Regions from separate parts of the Homo sapiens genome. Here region 2 is linked to region 1. Evidence: promoter capture Hi-C in human tissues and cell types (Jung and others, 2019). All regions are on one chromosome and are shown on one strand. The core of a region is centred on a gene start or on the middle of the fragment in contact, and the rest is flanking DNA. Distances in the headings are between cores, read along the strand shown.

Evidence for each region. The method cuts DNA at HindIII sites, captures the fragments that hold promoters and counts their contacts. A contact is called where the count stands out against the background at its distance.
Region 2: a contact is called between a fragment that was not itself captured here and the fragment with the promoter of MOS in region 1, in 2 of the 25 tissues and cell types used here (heart left ventricle and hippocampus).

Annotation. Positions count from the first base shown.
Region 1 is chr8:56,109,876-56,117,496 of GRCh38, reverse strand. It overlaps MOS (MOS proto-oncogene, serine/threonine kinase), which reads left to right and starts at 3,515. Exons shown (of 1, transcript NM_005372.1): 1 at 3,515-4,555. The coding sequence starts at 3,515. The coding sequence ends at 4,555. RefSeq lists an enhancer at 3,636-4,136. The HindIII fragment of the contact is 8,406 bases long and covers 1-7,621 here.
Region 2 is chr8:56,233,727-56,240,906 of GRCh38, reverse strand. No RefSeq gene overlaps it. Among named protein-coding and RNA genes, the nearest start is that of CHCHD7, 26 kb to the right of the region's middle. The HindIII fragment of the contact is 3,600 bases long and covers 1,098-4,697 here.

The DNA of each region.
Region 1 (7,621 bases), core at 2,266-4,765:
TGTGCGCTAAGAACACGAGAGCATTTCGCTCCTCAGGAGGTGCAGTTTATCTTGTCTCCTTTGTTTCATATATAATTCCAAGGAGAATTCCTTGTTATCAACACATTTTGCTCTTTGCCTTTGGGGGATGACATAGGCATATTGCATTTGATCAGATTAGTGTTAACCTTCCACCCACGTTTTTACTACATGCTGTACCATTAATACAGCAGGATTTTATACCTTTAACCGCAAAATTCAAGAGCAGAAAAATACTCAAATTGTATGTTAGTTTAACATGAAAACGAGTTATTTCAGCCCTGATAGGATACTTTTAAACCAATACTACCTAACAAATATGTTTCTTATTCGTATAAGCCCATACACATGGTTTTTTAAATGAGTTTTATAAATAATAATTAGCATTGAGGCCCTGATCTAAGTATTTGAAACTCTGTTACTCTTCACAACAATCCTGAGATGGGCATATTTTCCTCATTTTGCAGATAAGGAAACAGGCACTGGGATGGTAAGAAACCCAGGCCATCTGGCCCCTAATAGCCTTTTACCACCATGCTAAAGCTTTACCCATTTTTGAGATCCAAAATATTACATAGTGCACACATATTTGGTAACCAAATCAGGATTAAACATTAAAGTTAAGGGCCAAGCACAGTGCCCTGTAATCCTAGCATTTTGGGAAGCTGAGGCGGGCAGATCGCTTGACCTCAGGAGTTCAAGACCAGCCTGGAAAACATGGTGAAACCCCATCTCAACAAAAAAATACAAAAATAGTTGGGTGTGGTGGTGTGTGCCTGTGGTCCCAGCTACTTGGGAGGCTGAGGTGGGAGGATCGCTTGAGCCAAGGAGGCAGAGGTTGCAGTGAACCAAGATCACACCACTGCACTCCAGCCTGGGTGACATAGTGAGACGCTGTCTCAAAAAGAAAAAAGCAAAATTAAAGTAAGAACATAATAAGAAATATGTTTGGCACTGTGTTACGGGGAGAAAAAATCAATAGGGAGATAAATCCTGCTTTCAGGGTAAGTGCAATTTGCTGAGTAAAAGAAATATTTTAAGATACCTTAAAAAAGAAAACAAAGGCTGTTGTAAATTGGATATTCAATTAAATATTCTTGGGCAGATTGGCAGATGATAGATCTAATGAACTTGGGGTTTATAAATACACAGAATGCCACATTTTCACTAATACCTTATGTTTTGGGTAAAGAGTAAAACCAACTTTGAAAATGAATTGTGTATGCAATTATCTTAAAAATAAAGATTATATAATAAGTCACATTATCTTGCATTATGTGTAATATCTAGGGGGTTAAGGCACTCTCATTCTGCTAATATTCACAGCACTCCTATTATATAACCATTTCAGAGCCCTGAATTATAATCCTAACTAGGTGACAGTTACTGAGTAAATTTTGCAATGTAGATTTATTATAGAATATAATTGTATTACTTTTTCTCTATTCATTGGCATCCTTTTATATTTGGGGTTTGACACAATTGCACACAACAATCTTTCTACTAAAATATTCCATAGAGTTGGCCAGGCATGGTGGCTCACGCCTGTAATCCTAGCACTTTGGGAGGCTGAGGCAGGTGGATCACCTGGGGTCAGGAGTTTGAGACCAGCCTGGCCAACATGGTGAAACCCCATCTCTACTAAAAATACAAAAGTTAGCTGGGCATGGTGGCATGCGCCTGTAATCCCAGCTACTCGGGAGGCTGAGGCGGGAGAATCGCTTGAACCCAGGTGGCGGAGGTTGCAGTGAGCGGAGATCGTGCCATTGCACTCCAGCCTGGGCAACAAGAGCGAAACTCTGTCTCAAAAAAAAAAAAAAGATTGAGGCTCAAGCAGGTTAAATATTATACACACACTAGATCACATACTAAGCCACACAGGTTGTATAGAATAGAAATCCTATTCCAGGGCTTCACAGACCTCAAATTGTTTCTGTAAATGGTTCATGTTTATTAATTTACCTTCTCAAAGTCAATATACTTCAAAAACAGAACTGCTATCATTAAAATGTGGTTACACATAACCTAACACATAAGTGCTTTAGAAGAAGGGAACTTTACCATTTGATTTTTTAAAATATAGATCCTAACACTTTTGTGTGTGTGTGTTTTCTCATGAATATGGTAATATTATTGGTCCTTTTTCCAAAGATATGGTATGAAATTAATTTTTTGCTTAGAGTCAGGATCTTGCTCCATCATCCAGCCTGGTGTGCAGTGGCACGATCATAGCTCACTATAGCCTCAAACTCCTCAGTTCAAGTCTCCTCCCGCCCCAGCCTCCAAAGTAGCTAGGACTATAGGAGTGCACCACCACACTCAGCTAACTTTATTATTATTTTTTGTAGAGGCAGGTCTCAAATTCTTGGCCTCAAGTGGCCCTTCCACCTTAGCCTCCCAAAGCACTGGTATTATAGGCATAACTCACTGCACTTGGTAGAAAATTAATTTTCATTATAAAAATCAGAAAGAAAGATCTTATTGTCTGATGGCCAATACCCTGAATTTCATTCCAACTTCTGGTTTTCTACATTATATGTAGGTACCAGTGATTTTGTGCCATTTTTATTTCTTCAGATTTTTCCTCTTCTACAATTCTCCCATATGTGTTATTATTTGAAGCCCTGATCACAGCTCTGAATCATTTCTATTCTTTTGTCTCCCCCAACTCTGGTTCAAAACTTCGGTAACTCATTTGCTACGAAGTCTAGAATCTCTCTTGCAAGTGAGCTGACCGGTTGGGCCAAATCGCCTTGGAAGGGAAGGATTGTTAGGAAGTCAGTATGTTGCTAAGATGTCTTGCTAATTTGCTGTGTAAGCTGCATAGAGTGTCAGGGGATTCTCCTTTCCACTGATGAATTTAGGTGTGTGTTATGACCTGTATCAGTGATTCTATTTGGATTGATTAAGGTTGCAATTTTTTATCCATATGAATGTTGCACCTAGTTTTTCCCTGTAATTGGTTAAACAAATGTCTGCTGTTTGCATTTTAACTCTTAGCCAATACCTGCTGGAAGTGATTTAATGCAGCTGGAGAATGACACTAACAATCATTACAGCCTGCAAAGTGTGAAACAATTTCATTGTGCTTTGTGGTCTCTTTAGTCTGAGGACTGATAATGTGCAGCGGATGAGACTTGAAAAAAACGTATTTTATTATAATTTAAGAAATAATGTAAAAGAGGGGTGAGTTCTGAGGCAGCTCCATGCTGTTTGTCTGGCATGAGCTTGTTTTTATAAGAATTCACTTCAAGTGTGGAAGGGAAATGCTTTCATCTGAAAGGGATAGCTGTGCTTCATTCCGGTTTCTCCCTCCATCTGATAAAAACTCTTGCTGAGTGACAGCACAGATGTAGCTCATTTGGAACAAGTGAAGGAAAAGGAGAAAAGGGATGAGGTGGAGCGAAGGAGTAGTCAGTCATGTTTCCAAAGTCCCGCGGTTTCCCCTAGTCTCTTCATTCACTCCAGCGGCCCTGGTGTCCCCCTGCAAAGTGCGATGCCCTCGCCCCTGGCCCTACGCCCCTACCTCCGGAGCGAGTTTTCCCCATCGGTGGACGCGCGGCCCTGCAGCAGTCCCTCAGAGCTACCTGCGAAGCTGCTTCTGGGGGCCACTCTTCCTCGGGCCCCGCGGCTGCCGCGCCGGCTGGCCTGGTGCTCCATTGACTGGGAGCAGGTGTGCTTGCTGCAGAGGCTGGGAGCTGGAGGGTTTGGCTCGGTGTACAAGGCGACTTACCGCGGTGTTCCTGTGGCCATAAAGCAAGTGAACAAGTGCACCAAGAACCGACTAGCATCTCGGCGGAGTTTCTGGGCTGAGCTCAACGTAGCAAGGCTGCGCCACGATAACATCGTGCGCGTGGTGGCTGCCAGCACGCGCACGCCCGCAGGGTCCAATAGCCTAGGGACCATCATCATGGAGTTCGGTGGCAACGTCACTTTACACCAAGTCATCTATGGCGCCGCCGGCCACCCTGAGGGGGACGCAGGGGAGCCTCACTGCCGCACTGGAGGACAGTTAAGTTTGGGAAAGTGTCTCAAGTACTCACTAGATGTTGTGAACGGCCTGCTCTTCCTCCACTCGCAAAGCATTGTGCACTTGGACCTGAAGCCCGCGAACATCTTGATCAGTGAGCAGGATGTCTGTAAAATTAGTGACTTCGGTTGCTCTGAGAAGTTGGAAGATCTGCTGTGCTTCCAGACACCCTCTTACCCTCTAGGAGGCACATACACCCACCGCGCCCCGGAGCTCCTGAAAGGAGAGGGCGTGACGCCTAAAGCCGACATTTATTCCTTTGCCATCACTCTCTGGCAAATGACTACCAAGCAGGCGCCGTATTCGGGGGAGCGGCAGCACATACTGTACGCGGTGGTGGCCTACGACCTGCGCCCGTCCCTCTCCGCTGCCGTCTTCGAGGACTCGCTCCCCGGGCAGCGCCTTGGGGACGTCATCCAGCGCTGCTGGAGACCCAGCGCGGCGCAGAGGCCGAGCGCGCGGCTGCTTTTGGTGGATCTCACCTCTTTGAAAGCTGAACTCGGCTGACTGAAAACCTGGTCAAGATAAGTTTTTGTCTGATTCTATTTGTTTTTAAAGGAAGTGGAGATGTCGAAGAAAACATATTTGTAGGATGGAGTTTTAGAAAATAAAGTTACTAAAAACTCCTTTAGTCTCCAGTGCTTTTTCTAGGACACATTAGCAAAGCTACAAGTCTAGTACCTGTTGTCTCAGTACTGTTAGTAACTAATCTTATTCATATAGTCATGTGCTTTGCTTTCCATTGCTAGTATTTCATTTATTTAAATTTGTTATTGATAAAAGTTTGTCCAAAATAGAACTCCACTGCAGAAATGTCAAAATTTTCTATAAATCCATATATATCCCATACCTACCACATAAATTCCAACTATTAATGGTGTAGTTGCTCCCACACCAAATCAGTAAAAACTTTTAAAAAAATAAGTAATGCTTTCCTACTACTCCCCCCAGTAAAACTTCTTGTTTGTAATGACCTTCACTCATAAAAGTCATACACTGAGGTACATTTACATTCAAAGGAATTATATCATAAATGACTTATTGTAATATCTTTAACTTGTGCATTGCAATGAGTAGAAACATTTTGCTAAAACACTTCTAAACTGGGTCATTTTTACCTGGTATTGGGACTCAGAAGTAGAAGATAAAGATTATATGATGTGAGAGGAAAATGTAGGAGTAGAAGGTAAAGATTATATGATGTCAGGAATCATGAAATTTAACATTTGGATGGAAGAGAACAGACAAATAGAACTAGATTGCCCACTCTAGACATCAAAACAATGGATGTTGGTACATAGGATTTAAAGGAGAAGGTGATTGGATTTTGTCATTGGGACAGCTTTGACTTTCTTTTAGCAATAGCAGTTTCTGTGCATGGTGGAAAGCAAGGCTGATGCAATGGCTGGCAGAGGGAATGGCAAGGCCCTGAAGCAGAGGCTGTGCATGCACTGTTAAGGAGGGAGAGGCAGGAAGCTTAAAAGGGGGTCAGAGACACAGAAATGTTTTCAGATTTTTTATCTGGTATCATTTAGTTTTAGGTTGAAAGAAATAATTTTATTTGTAAAATGAGCCACCAGAGGCAAAGATAATTGATAAAGTTTAGATACTTGTAGAAGGGATGAAGCATAGTACCTAGGGGAAGAGATTGTCATCTTGGAGAGAAAGGGCATCTCTTCCCAGGATGGGAGCCAAGGGTGGGGGCACACTGGTATTATAGACACATTTACCCTAGGAAAAAGGGGACTGGGGAAGCACACATCTGTGAACTTCTATTTTTTTTCTGTTAAGAGTGGTTGAGGGTAGGGGAGTCTACAGAGTGAGAACATGGTTTGAAACTGTTCTTCAGAAAAGCAAAAGGGAGCTGTCTGTGGCCATGTAAAACACTGACAGAGTGCTGCTAACTCTGTCCAGGTAGTTGGGGGAACAAACCACCTATACCGATAAAGAATTCCCTTCTCTGATTATTATTATTATTTGAGATGGGGTCTCATTCCATCACCCAGGCTGGAGTGTAGTGGCACAATTTTGGCTCACTGCAACCTCCACCTCCCCAGTAGCTGGGATTACAGGCACGTGCCACCACACCTGGCTAATTTTTGTATTTTTAGTAAAGACGAGGTTTCACCATGTTGGCCAGGCTGGTCTTGAACTCCTGACCTCAAGTGATCCCCCCACATCAGCCTCACAAAGTCCTAGGATTACAGGCTTGAGCCACTGTGCCCAGCCCCCTTCTCTGACTATTGTGGCAATAGGAGTTCATGTTGGTAAGTTTAAATTACAATAGTATCTTCCCTTCACCTGGAGACCACATAGAATGACAAGATGAAGAAGGGGGAATAAACACTGTAGGCTCCATAATCAGTGAATCTGGGGTAGAGAAAACAAACTCTAAAATGTGATAACTAAAGATTGAATGGAGCCTTAAGGAAAGAGAGCAGAAAGGATAAGGGGTGGCTGGCGTCAGGGCAAGGGGGTGGGGACCAAGGGACCCAGCAGTGACAGATCCCAGAGAGACCTGCAAAATTAGGGGCCCTGGAGAACAGGAGCCCACTAGGAAGTGCAAATGTTGGGGAAGAAATCAGAGAACAGGAATGAGATCAAACAGTGCTGAGGTTAGAGGAGTTGGTAGAAAAAGAAGGAAGAGCAGGTGTTACGGAGGATCCAGCCATGCAGAGCTCAGAAATTGGCAGCAAAATTCAGCTGCTGGACAGGAGGGGGTCACCCTGGGGACAGGGCAGGGAATACTGGACAGGCACAGAAGCCTTCTGGGCCCGGTTTGCTTTGGAGAGAAAGAAGGTTGTGGCTGCATGAAGAAATCCACAGAAATGCCATATTGGAAGGAAACAAACAGATGAAAGAAGTCTGAGTTGTTGGAAAACCACCCTGGTGAGAGGTAGAACAGGTGCATGACTGCTCCCTCTGTAGCAGCTAAGAGTCAAAGTATGCTCTTTGACATACACATCAAGTCAGAGGTAAAGGCATACTTAACAGTGCAAAGATAAGTATTAAGCAAGATAATACGGGCGGGCGCGGTGGTTCACGCCTGTAATCTCAGCACCTTGGGAGGCCAAGGTGGGTGGATCACCTGAGGTCCGGAGTTCGAGACCTGCCTGGCCAACATGGTGAAACCCCATTTCTACTAAAAATAGAAAATTAGTCAGGCGTGGTGGCACATGCCTGTAATCCCAGCTATTTGGGAGGCTGAGGCAGGAGAATCATTTGAACCCGGGATGCAGAGGTTGCGGTGAGCTGAGATGGCGCCATTGCACTCCAGCCTGGGCAACAAGAGCGAAACTCCGTCTCAAAAAAAAAAGAATAACATTTACATCAAAACTCCATAAAGACTGCTTTTAAAAAAGAAACGACAGGTCAATCTTGTTTAAAACTATCAGTGTAAAAAATTATCAGTGTCCTAAGTAAATATTAGCACACAGAATCTAAGAGTTAATTTTTATAATCATGCACGTTATTTTTAATCAAGTGGATTTCTTCTAAGATGCAAAAATAGTTTCATATTAGAAAATCTATTGACTTACTTCATCATATTAGCAGGTTAAAAGAGTAAGAACA
Region 2 (7,180 bases), core at 1,648-4,147, 120 kb before region 1:
CTTTTTACTTCCGTGACATCAACCATTTTCTAGTTTCCACATATAAATGAGAAGATGTGGCGTTCAGCTTTCCATTCTTGGCTTATTTCACTTAACATAATGTTATCCAGGCTCATCTTTGTTGCTGCAAAAGACAGGATTTCATTCTTTGTATGGCTGAATAGTATTCCATGGCATATATATTCATATTTTCTTTATCCATTTACCTGTTGTAGGACACCTAGGTTGATTCCATATCTTGGCTATTGTGAATAGTGCTGCAATAAACATAGAGGTGCAGATGTTTCTTCAATATACTGATTTCCTTTCCTTTGGATAAGTTTCCAATAGTGAGATGGCTGGATCATATGGTAGTCCCATTTGTAGTTTTTTTAGGGACCTTCATATTGTTCTTCATAGTGGCTGTACTAGTTTGCATTCCCGCCAACAGTGGATAAGAGTTCCCTCTTCTTTGCATCCTTGCCAAAGTTTGCAATTATTTTTGGTCTTTTTGATAAAGAGAAGGTCGAAAGTGTACATAATATCCCCAAATGCTACAACTTACATTTGGCTCATAGATTTAGTCAACAGATGAGAAAAACATCCAAATAACTCCCTAGAAAATAAGCACATCCAGAATCTGAAAACAAGTTATCCCTGCTTATGTCAGGATTGACTTATACTTAACCTGCTTTTGTATTGTAATAACCTAGCCTGACATAGCAATTATGTGCACACCCCTTTTCTCTGGAGATATGTGTAACTTACTGTGGGGTAAATGTGAGCCCATATTAATTTAAATAGATAATTTTAAAACACTGTTTAACAGTGACACTACTTTGAGCCAAAGAAAACAAAAGAATCTACCATTTAAAATATGTAGTCTTACCTTAAAATTAGTACCACCAGTAATTAACTTTATCAGTGATATTAACATACCACATCATGTGCCTCTAGATACAGTGCACTGGGAAGGACACAACAGCATTTAGATAGTACTATGGCTAAAAAACTCCAGGTTATTTAAACCTAGATCCAATGATGAGGAAATCACAGATAAACTCAAATTAACAGAAATTCTACAAATAAATGACCTGTACTCTGCAAAATTGCCAAACATGAAAGGCAAAAAAAAAAAAAAAAAAAAAAATGGATCACTTGATCCAGAATAAAGGAAATGAAAAAGACATGAAAACTAAATGCAATATGTGATCCTGGACTGGCTCTTTGACCAGAAAAATAAATTGCTATACAGGACATTACTGAGACAGTTGGCAAAATTCTCATAAAGACTATATATTAGACAATACTAATATATCAACATAAAACTTCCTGATTTTGATCATTGTACATAGTTACATAAGCCAAGTGTCCTTGTTCCTAGGAAATATACACTTCAAGTATTTAGGAGTAAAGGGCGATGTACTCTCAAGTGGTCCAGAAAAAATATATAATTATATGTGTAGGAGGAGAGGAAAAAAAGAAAAAGAATGTGCAAATGTAGCAAAATGTTAACAACTGGTGGATCAGAGCAGAGCGTATTTGAAAGTCCTTTGCATTATTCTTGCAACACTTCTATAAATTTTAAATTCTTTCAAAACAAAAAATAATCCATTTTAAAAATCGTAGCAACATCATCATTCCAGGCCAAAATCCTGTTATTACTTTATTAACAAAGCACCACTGTGCACAAAAAACTAGAAAATTTTTAAAAAAAAATGAAATCACCCATAATCCTCCTCCCTGTTCTCCAGGTATCACCTGTCTACAGGTTTCTTCCCCTGTCTCTAAGTCACGTGTCTCTTGCACCCTCTGCTCCAGGCCTCCATCATCTCTTGACTGGAGACTTGGGTTCTCCAGTTTTTCTTGTCCCCTTTCCATCTGATCTCGGCAGATGTGTGCCCCTCGTGCTTGGCACTTGGTAGGGGCTCAACAAACATTCGTTGAATTAATGAGTGAATGAATCACAGTAAAAACATTCTGTCATTTGCTTTTTTGGGTAAAGCAAATTGAAATGATGTTGTACACATTCACATTTTTTTAAAAAAACAGAAGTAGAGATTTGGGCAAAATGCATTCTAAAGTGCCTGCCTGAATATTTTAGCATTTGCAAAACATCCAAATGTTTAATCTCAGTTAAACTACTTCTACTGTAGCTCATCCCTAGAGTAACTAACAAGTGCCCCTGACTTTATCTTTATGCCCCCTTTTCCACACCATCTTCAGCTGGCTGCCCACATTCTACTGTACACTGTGTTTCTCTGCCTGGGCATTATAAATCAGGTGGCTATATCCAAATCTCTCAAATCAGATTAGATTGGGTTCTGCCTTCTGGTTGAACTAGAGCCTCCTGGGCCTCACTGAAATTGTGGGCCTCACTGAAATGGAAATCTGCAGGCATTTCCATAACCTGCAGGGTTGGGCACCTGATAGTAAGCATGACTCCATCACTAACCAGCTGTAGGCCTTTCTAAATTTTTAAATCTTTCCTGTTCTCAATTTTCAATAGAGTAAAAGGGAGGTGAGATTAAATAATTTTTAAAATCACCTTTAGTTCTGAAACATTATGATTCTATTATTCTAACGCTAGGAAAAGTAGAAATCAGATAACAGAAAATCAGGAGTGGAAAATTTTTTAAACTCAACAGAATGTAAGTATGATGATCATGATTTATTTTAGGGTTTGGATGCAGAGGACAAAAGAACAGGACTCCCTTCACACAAACTGGTGGAATAGAATTAAGGTAATTACAGACTGGTAGTTGCTGAAGACGATAAATGACTTAATAAAACAGTTGACCACGACTCTTAACAGCTATGGTTAAATGACACATGCCCAAATGCTATAATTAAATTCCTCTGTAACCAAATTCTGGCAGTGAGTAAGCTTTTCTTCCTTTATACTTTCAAAGGCTTGGGAAATTAAGTACAGTCAGTTTTTTAGATTACTATATCAATGGTTCTCAAAGCATGGTCTACGAATCTATTTGACGGATTAGAATAGAGATCAGAGCACTTCAGAGTGAGACAGGAAGGGTTGATGAACAAGTCCCACTTGAGAAAAGTAAAGGCCAGACTAGTTAAGTGGCTTGTCAAAGGTCACACAAAATGACACAACAGACTCACTTCCTGAATGTCTGATTGGGTATATCACCACCATGCATCTCATCCATAAAACACTTCTAACCAGTCATTCATGAGCTGGTATCTGGTGCTGTTATTGAAGTCATGGGCATATTTCACTTCTGACATTGATTCACACACTTCATCCTTGTTCACATCTCTGGGACTGCCTGTAAGCTTAGGTAGGTCTTGTACAATGAGATTCTTTGCAGTCCTGGAGTCATTGCACCACGCTGAAATGGGGGCCAAGATGGATATCCCCTGCCTCCCTGATGTGCGTCCTTCTCTAAACTGCCTGGTGAATACAATCTCAGACAACTCTTCAGGCACAAGCATTCCATTCAACTGTTTTTGCAATGGTAGTAGGAGAACAAGGCTACATATTTATTCTTCTGGGGGCTATATTTCCACCAGAGTGCATTCTGGAAATTTGGACAGTTAGAAAGCCATTGCATCACAGCACCTTGTACATGTTTTGAATTCAAACTAATATGTTAAATTAAAAAGCCAGTTCTTTTCTATAGACATTCAGCATGCCTCTTTTCTAGATTTGCCCAGATAGACAAGATGGAATTAAGAGGTACTCTCATGATGGAAGATAATTTTCTTCATTGTAACTATTGGCAAGAATAAAGATCACCTTTGCTATCTGACATGGTGATAGTAGTTTCCACTTTACCATGTGGTGGAGAAGAATGAGCACATGATCAGGCCTGTGCCAGCCTTGCAGTAAGCCACCTTCAGCACCTGGCTAATCCCTTTACCCTGCCAAAGCTAGATGAGAACTAAGGTTTTGCAGGTCCCCCCGCTCTGTGTAAAGACTCCTCTCTTCAAAGCCTTGGGATCCAGAGAGACAGCAAAAGAATCAGTCACAGAGCCCCTTGCAGTATTTTCTCACAAAAACCATATGAGGTTTTTTTAAATCAGGTCCAAAGCATCCTTAGGACAAAAAGAATGTGATTTTCTGAATCTCGTGGTCTCAGGCTTCTGCACCATCAGTAAGCCTTTCATAATCATTGGGAAGCTTCCATACATGTGGCTCCAGCCTTTCCAGGTCTCTCAAGCTCTTCTGTCATTCATAACAGTCCCATGAAACGAAAGTGATTCCTTGTCAATTCAAAAGTTTGAGCATTCCTGAGCAGGAAATTTGGATTTGGGAGGATATAATATCTAAGTCCCTTTTTCTAGAGAATTGAGACCTGTAACTTAATTTGTGAGATCATTCAAGGAAGGGGAAGTGATCAAATCGTGGGGTTCCACTCCCCTTTTTTGGGAATCAGACTGTATGAATCTGTATCCCTATTCATTGTTGTTGGTTTTATTCACATAAAGAAAATGTTCTTTTCTTCATCTTTCTGGTGGATGGAGAAGAAAAAGAATTTCCAAAAAATGCAAAATTAGCAATAGGCCCACTTATAGGTGTGTTTCTCAAGTTCCCACTATCAATGTTTCCCTAAAAATTAATAGCCAATAATTCATATTAAATGTTCCCAAATTATTAAAAAGCATATCCTCTCGAGAGAAATGTATTTACAAAGAAGTCTTACAGATAAAGTTCTAAAGAACATATTCATAATCAAAAACCACCAAACACAAACTAGAACAGGACACCACTGCATGCAAACCACATGAAACAATAGGCAAGAGAATAAGATCTGCAGAAATATTAAAAACTGGGAACTTCATACATGGAATCACATATATATGTGTGATTAATAGATTTAAATTAAAGATCTACATGATGTTCTACCTACAGCAGTGATCCCCAACCTTTTTGGCACAGGAATCGGTTTCATGAAAGAAAATTTTTCCATGGACCAGGGTAGGGGATGGTTTTAGGATGATCCAAGCACATTATATTTATTGTGAACTTTATTTATATTATTATTACATTATAATATATAATGAAATAATTATACAACTCACCATTATGTAGAATCAGTGGGAGCCCTGACCTTGTTTACCTGCAACCAGACGGTCTCATCTGGGGGTGATGGGAGACAGTGACAGATCATCAGCCATTAGATTTTTATAAGGAGCATGCAACCTAGATCCCTCACATACACAGCACTCCTATGAGACTCTAATGCCACCTCTGATCTGACAGGAGATGGAGCTCAGGCAGTAATGCAAGTGATGGAGAGCAGCTGTAAATATAGATGAAGCTTTGCTCACTCGCCCTCTGCTCACATCCTGCTGTGTGGCCCAGTTTCCAGCAAGCCACGGACCGGTACCAGTTCGTGGCACAGGGATTGAGGACCCCTGATCTACAGGATTAAACATATGAATAAAGAATGGGAGATTATGAAATAAGCAAGAATATCAAGCAAAGAATCAAAGAAAACTTCTAGTAGTTAAAATGTGGAATAATTACAAGTAATAATTAAATGGACAATTTAAAAAGCAGATTAGCCACAGATGAGGAAAAAAGCAAATTGGAAGGTAGAGTTGAAGAAATACCAAGACTGCATCTGTTGAAGAAATACCAAGACTACATCTCAGAGACATAAGGAATAGGGAAATATGAGAAGTTAAAACACTTGAGGATAGAGAACTTTCTACATTTCTAGAAGCAAAATAAAGACTGAATAAGGGATGCACAATATGTTAAAGGATAACGATGAAGTTTAATTTTTAAAAATTAATGTAAGATACAAATTTTTAAATTCAAGAAGCCTAAAGAAATACATACCTAGACAAATCAACAAGAAACTAAAAACACAAAATACAAAAAAAAAGAGTCTAAATATATCCCAAGAAATAATACAGGCTACCTATAAAGGAATAACAGCTAGACAGACAGATTTCTCCTAAACAAGAAGAGAAAAATTATGAAACTATTGTATAACAACTTCACAGTACCAAAACAATAACAAAAACAAAAAGACCCTCAACCTAGAATGATTTATCCAGAATAAGCAGCTTATAAAGAGGAGGACCCCAAAAAAGGATAATTTTGTATAGGTAAAAATGAAGATAATTTCTAAAAATTATATTATAACTAAATAAAATTATAATTAAAATTCCTTAGAAATATGAAAGATAGAAGAAATTATCATGTTTAAGTACATTCATTTTGTTTTTAAAAAGTAGATATTAATGTCTTATTAAAATATAGAGTTAACAAGATTAATTAAAAACTTAAACATAAGACCTGAAATCATAAAATCCTAGAAGAAAACCTAGGAAAATCTTTCTGGACGTTAGCCCAAGCAAAGAAGGTATAATGAAGACCCCAAAAGCAAATGCAACAAAGACAAAAATAGAGAAATGGGACGTAATTAAGGACTCTGCACGGCATAAGAAATAATCAACAGAGTAAACAGACAACCTACAGAATGAGAGAAAATATTTGCAGGTTGGGTGCGATAGCTCATGTCTGAAATCCCAGAACTTTGGGAGGCCAAGACAGGTGGATCGCTTGAGGTCAGGAGGTTGAGACCAACCTGGCCAACATGGTGAAACCCCATATTTACTAAAAATACAAAAATTAGCTGGGCCTGGTGGCATGCACCTATAATCCCAGCTACTCCGGGGGCTGAGGCAGGAGAATCGCTTGAACTTGGGAGGAGGAGGTTGCAGTGAGCCGACATCACACCACTGACCTCCAGCCTGGGTGGCATAGTGAGACTCCATCTCAAAAAAAAAAAAAGAAAATATTTGCAAATTATGCCTCTGACAAAGGACTAATATCCAGATTCTACAAGGAACTTAAACAACTCAACAAGAAAAAAACGACTCCATTAAAAGCTAGGCAAAGGACATGAACAGACATTTCTCATGAGAAGAAATTCATGCAGCCAACAATCATATGAAAAAATGCTCAATATCATCAGAGAAATGCAGATTAAAACCACAATGAAATACCATCTTACACCAGTCAGAATGGCTATTATTAAAAAGTCAAAACACAACAGATGTTGGCATGGATGCAGAGAAAAGGAAATACTTATACATTGTTGGTGGAAATGTAAATTAGTTCAACCTTTATGGAAAACAGTATGGAGATTTTTCAAATAACTAAAAATAGAACTACCATTCAACCCAGCAATCCCACTACCAGGTATCTACCCAAAAG